3 separate regions of the Homo sapiens genome follow, and regions 1 and 3 are each linked to region 2. The links are contacts of gene promoters, found by promoter capture Hi-C in blood cells and fetal thymus (Javierre and others, 2016). All regions are on one chromosome and are shown on one strand. Each heading gives the region's core, a stretch centred on a gene start or on the middle of the fragment in contact. The rest is flanking DNA. Distances are from core to core; before and after follow the strand shown. Region 1 holds the start of TDRD7 (tudor domain containing 7). Region 2 holds the start of SLC35D2 (solute carrier family 35 member D2). Region 3 holds the start of FANCC (FA complementation group C).

What was found. The method cuts DNA at HindIII sites, captures the fragments that hold promoters and counts their contacts. A CHiCAGO score of 5 or more calls a contact.
Region 1: the fragment with the promoter of TDRD7 here is called in contact with the fragment with the promoter of SLC35D2 in region 2 in 1 of 17 cell types (neutrophils); the score reaches 6.0 in neutrophils.
Region 3: a contact is called between the fragment with the promoter of FANCC here and the fragment with the promoter of SLC35D2 in region 2, in 3 of 17 cell types (M0 macrophages, M1 macrophages and naive CD8 T cells). The highest score is 12.6, in M0 macrophages.

What each region holds. Positions count from the first base shown.
Region 1 is chr9:97,410,710-97,413,782 of GRCh38, forward strand. TDRD7 (tudor domain containing 7) reads left to right here and starts at 1,387. Exons shown (of 17, transcript NM_014290.3): 1 at 1,387-1,529. RefSeq lists silencers at 1,074-1,423, 1,444-1,653, 1,738-2,032 and enhancers at 1,368-1,869, 1,870-2,369, 1,974-2,233. The HindIII fragment of the contact is 7,534 bases long and covers 1-3,073 here.
Region 2 is chr9:96,382,027-96,385,029 of GRCh38, forward strand. SLC35D2 (solute carrier family 35 member D2) reads right to left here and starts at 1,685. Exons shown (of 12, transcript NM_007001.3): 1 at 1,451-1,685. The coding sequence starts at 1,608. It overlaps SLC35D2-HSD17B3 (SLC35D2-HSD17B3 readthrough), which reads right to left and starts at 1,685. Exons shown (of 26, transcript NR_182427.1): 1 at 1,451-1,685. RefSeq lists silencers at 1,284-1,333, 1,344-1,673. The HindIII fragment of the contact is 17,441 bases long and covers 1-2,910 here.
Region 3 is chr9:95,316,111-95,319,170 of GRCh38, forward strand. FANCC (FA complementation group C) reads right to left here and starts at 1,599. Exons shown (of 15, transcript NM_000136.3): 1 at 1,416-1,599. RefSeq lists a silencer at 951-1,270. The HindIII fragment of the contact is 1,904 bases long and covers 255-2,158 here.

The sequences.
Region 1 (3,073 bases), core at 137-2,636, 1.0 Mb after region 2:
CAGCCCCCCAAAGGATAGTACATACGATTCCATACATAAAAGTTTTACATATAACTCTAGAAAAAGCAAAATAATCTATAGCAACAGAAAGCAGGTGAGCAGTTGAGGGGGCAAGTGACAGGGAGGGACAAGATATAAGAATTACAAAGGATCACAGTAAAACTTTTTTGGGTGATGGATATGTTCATGATTTTGATTGCAGTGATGGTCTCACAGTGATATATATATATCAAAACTTATCAAACTGTACATTTTAAACATTCAGTTTATTGTATGTCTTATACATGGCAGTCAAGCTGTAATAAAATACCGGTTGAATAAGCAGCAGGTTCTCAGTAAATGCATAATTTATCAAGCTGTACATTTTAAACGTTCAGTTTATTGTATGTCTTATACATGGCAGTCAAGCTGTAATAAAATACCGGTTGAATAAGCAGCAGGTTCTCAGTAAATGCATAATTTATCAAGCTGTACATTTTAAACGTTCAGTTTATTGTATGTCTTATACATGGCAGTCAAGCTGTAATAAAATACCGGTTGAATAAGCAGCAGGTTCTCAGTAAATGCATATCCAATGGTGCAGAGAAGTGTTCAATGTTGGCTGCAGGGATGCAAAGCAGGTGCCAATAAGTGTTGGTGGAATTAATGTGCAGAATAAATAAGTATTCACTTATTAGGTGTTCAATAACTTTAGAGTGAATGAATAAATTTGACAGATATTTATTGCTGATCGTGTGCTAGGCACTATCCTAGGCTCTGGGAATAGGTTAAGGAACCAAACAAAAATCCTTGTGCTCACAGAGCTTTAATTTTAGAAGGATAGCAGACAATAAAAGCATAAGTAAAATACATATAGTGTGCTAGATAGGTGCTAAGGAGAAATAAGGTTGAGAATGGGGATAGGGAAAGTCAAGGAAGGAGGTTGACATGTTAGAGACTGTGTCCACCGTCATTGAAAGGGTAATGCTTGAGAAAGGCCTGAAGGATATGGGCGGACAGAGTGTGTGTCTAGGGCAATAAAAAGTAACTGCTCCAGATGTTGAAGAAAATAATGTGCAGGAGTTGAACTGTTTGGAAGGAGGGTGAGCCCCATAGAAGGAGCCACCCTCGCCCCCTGCTGAGTCCCGGCTCGCTCGGCCCGCGCGTACCTGCGTTGTCCACCAGGAGGCGCTCCCGCACCCGCCCCGCAGGCGTCTTCCGCCGCCGGCCGGTGCGTGGGCACGCGCAGAAACCGCTAGGTGGCGACGGTTTCCCTTCCCACGCGCGGACGCCGGCGTGGGCCGACGCGGCCGGAGCGCCCGCGCGTGCGCAGAGCCGAGGCCAGGCTGCCCTCGAAGCGGGGCGGGGCGAAGCGGGGCGGGGCCGAGCAGGGCGGGGCGGGGGCTTGAGGTGATTCCCAAGCCGCGGGGCGGCTCCGGTGGTGCGGGGAAACCGAAAGTGGGCGGCGGCCGCGGCGGGGCCCCTGGCGGAGACGGCGGCAGGAGCTGGGCCCAGAGACGCGGGGACGGGCCGTGGGCCCCCGGAACGAGGTGAGTGCAGGTCCTGCGGGCTCCGGGCGCGACAGGTGCCGGGCGACGTCGGACGAGATTTCGGGCGGGCGCGGCGCACCTGGGTCACCGGTGGGACCGCGGCCAGGGCCGGGGGCTCCAACAGGCTCGGGGCCTTTTCCCTGCAGCCGCAGGGGATTGCCCCCGCCCCGACGCCTGGGAACCGGGCTGGGCGCCGGGGGAGTTGGAGTTCCAGAGCGTTGTGTTTTAAATCTCTGAAGGGACCCTGCTCCGGGCCGGGCGTTCACGCGGGAGTCGGACGGAGCCTCCTGCCGCCTCGGAAGCTCTGCGCCGTGGGGGAAATGCAGCAGCGGGGTGTGGACGCGGGCGGGAGATGCGGACCAGGAAGTGGTTCCCGCTACCGGCGCGACAGGCCGCAGCCGCCGCCCCCAGCGAGGGATGTCCGCGCTCCCCTATTTGAACCCAAGTATTTTACACCACGAACTTCTCTTGAAGGTCTCTATAATCTGGAGACGAGCCCCAGGCAGGCCGCTTAAGTAATGCAGGACACACATCCCCATTTCTCTCAAACGAGGAGCACCCAGTGGGTACAGAGCACCCAGCTGGGAGGGAAACATGGATCCGTGAGTAAGTTGTCTCTCAACTTTCAGTAGCATCCCCTCAGCAGGGTCAGACTCTCAGCTTCAGCTTGCTAGGAGGGAGCTTGGAGCCGGCATATCTTTCTGCTCCCATTCACTTGAGAGGTATATTTCCATTAATAGCTAAAGGTACCATTCTCAAATAATTTCTAAGAGCAGGGAAGGGAAACAACCACATTAGAACAAGTCCTGGCCCAGAAGAATTCTGATCACCGCCCATCCAAACCAAACCAAACCAAAAAACCACAGATCTAGTTCATTAACCCTCCTACCAACACCTCTCTGCTCTCCAATCGTGCCGGTGAAAAAAATGCAGAGAAATGTTCTCTCTAGAGAGATAGGCAACAGCTTAATAGCAGAAGTAAAACTTGGACCCAAATCCCTGTCTCGTCCTGGGCTGCCTTGATGTGTATGAATGTGTTGCATACTGCAAATAATGTGAACTTTGCAGACCTGGATTGAAATCTGGGCTTCTCATTTTACAAATTGTGTGATCTTGAACAAATTACATGCTTTCTCTTAGCCTGGTTTTCTATGTGTCAAATAGAGGTACCTGGCTTACTTTGCAAGGCTTTTCCAAGATAACCACTGTATATCCTTTGCCTCATAATAATTGCCAAGCAGTATTCACTCTCTTCCTCCCAACAAACGGTCCATGTTTTACATAATTGGATTTTAGTTTTTTGAGGGCAGGGACACAAAGATCTTTGTGTTTACTATATAATATAAATGGGCACATGGTGGATATTTTTGCATTTCCTCTCAGCTGACATTCATTGAGCATCAGTTACGTGCAAAGTACTGTTCTGGGTATAGGGAATTGCCCCTGGGGCCAGCTGGATTAGCACTCACATCTCCTGTGCCCCAATCCAGGGCCCTTTGGTGGCACACAGCCTCCGTCTTTGGTAGTTGCACGGTGAGACTGTG
Region 2 (3,003 bases), core at 435-2,934:
ACTGAAGCAGAATCTCCAGAGCAGGGACCTTGTGCTGTTCACAGAGGCTTCCCTGGTGCTTGCAATGGGCTCAGTATTTAGTAGGTGCTTAATAAATATCTGTTGGAGGTACAACCAATCGAGCTTATGTGGGCCTCAGTTTTCTCGAATATAAAATAAGAAAGGTGAGGCTGGATGAGATAGTTTGCACCTGTAATCACAGCACTTTGGGAGGCCAAAGCAGGCCTAGACCAGCCTTGGAAACACACTGAGACCCCACCTCTACAAAAAATCAAAAAAATTGCCGGTGCAGTGGTGCACACCTATGGTCCCAGCTTCTCTGGAGGCTGCAGCAGAAGGATTGCTTGAACCCAGATGGTCGAGGCTGCAGTGAGTCATGATTGTGTCACTACACTCCAGCCTAGGCAACAGAGTGAAACCTTGTCTCAAAAAAATATTATACACACACACACACACACACACACACACACTATATATATATATATATATATGCCTGCCTTGGCCTCCCAAATGCTGTGATTACAGGTGCAAACCACCTCAGCCAGCCTCAGCTTTCGTATTTTATATTCGAGAAAAGTGAGACCCACATAAGCTGAATCTGTATGTATATATAAAAAAAGAAAGCTGATACTCTAAGATACTCTCTAACTAAGACACTCTAGGTCTCTTTGGGCTCTAAAATGTTGATGGCATATTCTTGTAACATAGTAGAGTTTACAAAGAGCCTTCACATATAACAGCTCGTGCAGAGCCCTGGAGGGTAATTAACACGATTGTAATCATTCAGGTTTTTTGCATCTGAAAAAAATTGCTGACTGTGAGACTGGTCCAAAAAGACAGGTGTTAACCGGTGGAGCTGGGTCTAAATCCACAATTTTCTCAGTGCCGCTACAATGGTAGCAGAATTAAGCAGGATTTTCTAGTCCTTACAAATAGGTTCAAGGCAGCACAAATTTGCGTTTACTTCACACTAATCCAAAAAAGTACTCCATATGAACTTCCAATTGTTTTCCCGAGTTTTCCATGAACACGCTGGTCATCTGAGAATGAACAGTCAATCAATACAGACTTACTGGCTCAGGAGTACCTGACCGTTGAACATGGAGATCTGTGTAAGGAATTGCGTCCTTTGAAGCAGGCATTTGAATCCCTGTTTTCAGCTCGCTGGGTGTATGAAAGAATCTGTCTGAGCTCTACCAGCCCACCTAGGACAGGGCGCCTCGCAGCAGGGCAGGCGCGCTCAGGAAGAGAACGACTTTCTCAGGTTGTGGCCTGAGTGTAGAAAGCTGAGCGAGTTCTGGAGGGCGCCTGGGAAACTCGACCAATGTGCCCAGCTGAGACTCGAGGGTCCCTGTCCCCACCCGCCCTGTCCCGGGCGCCGCTGAAGCGCACGGAGGACAGGGGCAGCCCCGCACTCCCGCAGACCCCCCGGCCCCGGGCCCCGCCTCACCCGTAGGTGGTCAGCAGCGCCTTGTTGACAAGCACGATGAGGAAGGAGCAGGTCCCGTAGAAGAGCGCCGACAGCAGCCGGGCCACCCGCGAGGGCAGCCGCGCCGCGCCGGGCTCCCCGCCAGCGCCCTCGGCCTCGGCCTGGCCGCCGGCCGTCATCTCCTGCGGCCCCGCGGACCCCGCCGCCCGCCAGCCCCGGCTGCGCACTGGTCCCGCCCGGCCGGGCCGGGGAAGAGGGCGCGGCAGGAACAGGAAGAGCCCGGCGCAATCCCAGGTCCCGACCCGCCCCCTGCGAGCGCCCGAGGCCGGCGCGGGAGGACCCTGCGCGCTGGACTTCACCCTGGTTCCAGGCACCTCCTTCGGTCTCCAGGGCCGGCAATGCGCTGGGGAGTTGAAAAGCGCTGCCTTCCTCCAGGCTTTCCTGGAAAGAAACGCTTCAGTAAGTCTCAGGGCTTGTTTTGCTTTTTTTTTTTTTTCCCTACAACTTTTTTGTTTAGTGTATAATTTACATACAATGAAGTGTACACATCTTGCCAGTCCATAGTTTGAGATGAGCTTCGACAAAGGCATCCACAGGAGTAACTACTCAAAACAACATTTCCATCGCCCCAAAAATTCCCCTTGCTGCCCCTTTGAAGTTAACGCCCGCATCTCATCGATGACTATTGCTGTAGGTTAGGTTTGCCTTTTCCGGAATTTCAAATAAACAGGGTGCTTTCTAGAATTTATGAATGAGCATGTGGTCTCAGGGGTTTTCACTCTATGCTTTGGACTCGACCATGTGGTTTGTTTAATCGTTGAATAGTATCACAAATTGTGTATCCATTGGTTGTTTCCAGTTTAGGACCATTAGGAAAAATGCTTCCATGAAAATTCGTGGGCGTTTGTGGGACCTGTGTCTTCATTTCTCTTAAATAAATATCTAGGAGTGGAGTGGCTAGGAGTAAGGTGGGTGAAGCCTTGGGACTTGGGTGTCCTCTGGGTGCTTTGTGGTAGGTGCATTCCTCGCGGAGGGCCGTTTGCCTTCGGGTCAGGTCAGTTGAAGGACAGCTTCCCAGAACCGCCTACCCTTGTCAGTCTTTAAAAAATATGAACTTTTGGCCAGGCGCGGTGGCTCACACATGTAATCCCAGCACTTTGGGAGACCGAGGCGGGCAGATCACGAGGTCAGGAGATCGAGACCATCCTGGCTAACACGGTGAAACCCCGTCTCTACTAAAGATACAAAAAAAATTAGCCGGGCGTGGTGGCGGGCGCCTGTAGTCCCAGCTACTCAGGAGGCTGAGGCAGGAGAATGGCGTGAACCCGGGAGGCAGAGCTTGCAGTGAGGCGAGATCGCGCCACTGCACTCCAGCCTGGGCGACAGAGCAAGCCTCCGTCTCAAAAATATATATATTATATATTTAATATATAATGTATATTATATATATATATATATATGAACTTTTAGCTTCTTAGAAAAGCTTAAGATTTCAAGTTAAATAAAAGTTGGGGCCTAACTATATAGATGCCCAGAGAATTGTTTTTCTACCCTTAGGCACTAAACAACCAGGA
Region 3 (3,060 bases), core at 349-2,848, 1.1 Mb before region 2:
AAATTCGAATGTATAATATACAAAGTATAATTAGTCCAGTTCTCAAGAAGCAGGCTCTATTACTGGGAGTAGTGGGTTGGTGAAAAAGATCTCTGATATATCTAGGAAAACAAATTCTTTTTCGATGCAGCCTTTCTTGTATATGAATAATGTATATGAGTGCTTATTTCCAGGTGACTCTGGTACAGCACATAACATTGAAACATCAATTCAAGTTTAATGTATAAAGTCGCAATGAACATGTTTTCCATCTAAGCTTAGGTAATGAATGATCTCAACACATGGTATGAATTCTACTGTTTGTAACAACCTTTCAGGGGAGTAAGGAGAAAACGATCTGTCTGAGGGCATATCACTGACAGTGAGTGACAGCCACAAAGAGCTGAAGTTGGGTGGCCCAAAAGTGCTCTGCTCATTTGATAAATGCTAAGTCAAATCACATCACAGTTTAGATGCATTAAATGGGGCACAAGTTAGAATAAAATCAGATGCCCGGGAGTTTTCCAAGTTTCAGATTAGAACAAAAGTCCAGGCACATACAGGACTTTGCTAGAAAACTCCTTGGTCTCTTCCCTTAAGATTCTGGTACCCAATTTCCCATGTTATAAAACTCCAAGTCTTTTCCCCCATTCGGTGCGCTGGACACATAAGATCATAGAGGGTTCGTAGTTGTAAACGCACCCACCTAAAAAATTAAAAAGAGCAAACCAACAAACAGCACCTGAAAAATCTCTCACGGGCTTTGAAGATATGGCCTGGCGTCCACAAAAAGAATGGAGGGAAGACACTGGCCTCTGCGAACCCGCCTCCCTCCGGGAATAAAAGGCGGAGGGCGGGAGGGGTAACAGCCGCGCCCCGGGCTCCTCTAATTGGACCTCGCCCCTCCTGGCGCCCCGGCGAATGGGGTTTGGGGGCAGGGGTGTGAGGGACGGGGAGGACGAGGCCAGCTGTAGAGGGCGACCGGCTCAAAGGGGCGAGCTTTTCACGGCTCCCACGAGTCCGAGGCAGAGAAATTCACCTTTGCTCCTCTCCTTTGAAGAAGACATAGCTGCCTGCGCTCAATGAACAAAAAGAACCAAAACGCCAACACCCGGCTCCCGCCTCTCCGGGGGCTCCCTTCCGCGCGACCCCAGCGCCGGCTCCCGCCCCCGCTTTCCCCGCCCTGGCCCCGCCCCGCGGGCTGGCACCGCCCGCCACCTTCCGCCTCCCGCCTCCCGCCTCCCGCCTCAGCCTTAGCCACAGCCCTGCGCCGGCGGGAACCCCTCTCGCCCACCGCAAGGCGCGCCTGGCCCACCCGCTCTCGCGAGCCTTCCCTCTTGCCCCTCGCCTCCTCCTCCCGCTCTCGCCGCTGACGTGTCGGCCAGACCCCCGAGGGAAGCCTCCGCCCTCGCTGCGTTCTGCGGCCTGCCGCTTACCGGGTGGTCCTCGCGGGAGCTGCTTCAGCAGTTTGGGCAGTGGCGGAAAGGAAGCCACCGCCCGGGATCTGTGGCTTGAAAATTTGGCTTTGCCTCGTATTGGCTTTTTGAGTTTTTTTGGAATTTTCCCGCGGTCGCCCGGCAGTGGAGCCGCGCGCGCGCACACGTGTCAGCAGTGCATTCTGGGGCCTGGCTAGCGGCCCCGCGCGCTCCCGCGGCGTCGCGGGAAAATTCCGACGAATCTCGGGTCCGTGGGGCGGGGCGGGCGCGGCCAGGGCTCTGGCGGAAGTGGGCCCGGCTGGGGCGGGTTCTAGGCGAGCGGAGTCGGTACTGCTCCAGTGTTCCCGGTTTCGCGCGGAAGCCCCGGCGGGAGCAGGGTTGCAGCAGCGCCCGCGGAGAAGGGGCGCTGGCTTCTTCCATATTCTGTTCAAAATGTAGGGGAGGTAAAATGGAAATTAGTTCTTTTGAAGAAAAGTTGAGGCTTTGTCAACGGGGTAAAACCTCTAAAATAAGATTTTCTAACTGCGTTCTAAACAATAGCAACAAAAAAGGCATCTTCAGTTAATGATTTCCCCTACCGTACATTAGTTCCATACAGTGTTTGGTCGGGGTTCAAATCAGTTCAACGCTGTACATAAACCACCCAAACAAATATTAATAAAATTTTCTCCAAACTCCCATTTATGACAATGGCATTAGCTTGTCTTGGTGAATTTTTTTTTCTTCTAGGATCTGACGACTTAAGCTTTAAAATGTCTTAAATCAATGCCTCACAACCATAAATCATAATCATAAAACTACAGCTTAGGTCGGGCGCTGTGTCTCAGGCCTGTAATCCCAGCACTTTGGAAGGCCAAGGCGGGCGGATCACGAGGTCAGAAGATCGAGACCATTCTGGCCAACATGGTGAAACGCCGTCTCTACTAAAAATACAAAACGTTTAACCGGGCGCGGTGGCGGGCGCCTGTAATCTCAGCTACTCTGGAGGCTGAGGCAGAATAGCTTGAACCAGGGAGTCAGAGGTTGCAGTGAGCCGAGATCGCGCCACTGCACTCCAGCCTGGCGACAGAGGGAGACTCCGTCTCAAAAAAAAAAAAAAAAAAGCTACAACTTCACATATACGTTCAAAAACACACTACAGGCCGGGCGCGGTGGCTCACACCTCTAATCCCAGCACTTTGGGAAGCTGAGGCGGGTGGATCACCTGAGGTCAAGAGTTTGAGACCAGCCTGGCCAACATGGCAAAAACCCGTCTCTACTAAAAATACAAAAATTAGTGTGTACTCCCGGCTACTTAGGAGGCTGAGGCAGGAGAATTGCTTGAACCCAGGAGGCGAAGGTTGCAGTAAGCCAAGATCGCACTACTGCACTCCAGCCTGGGCAACAGAGCGAGACTCTGTCTCAACAAAAAACACCACAAAGCTGTGTGTGCTTGTAATAAAAATAGCTCTCAAGTATTTAAACATGTCCAACTATTCCTATGGTGAAGAAATACCCGTTTTACCAATGAATACTTTCAATTCAGAGACTAATTTGCAGAGGTTATACATTTATAAGTGATACAATAAGTATATAGCATAGCAATAGCAACAATCTGTTTAAGAATTAAAGGTAGTTAAAAAAAGGAACCGATCCAGAGGTTGAG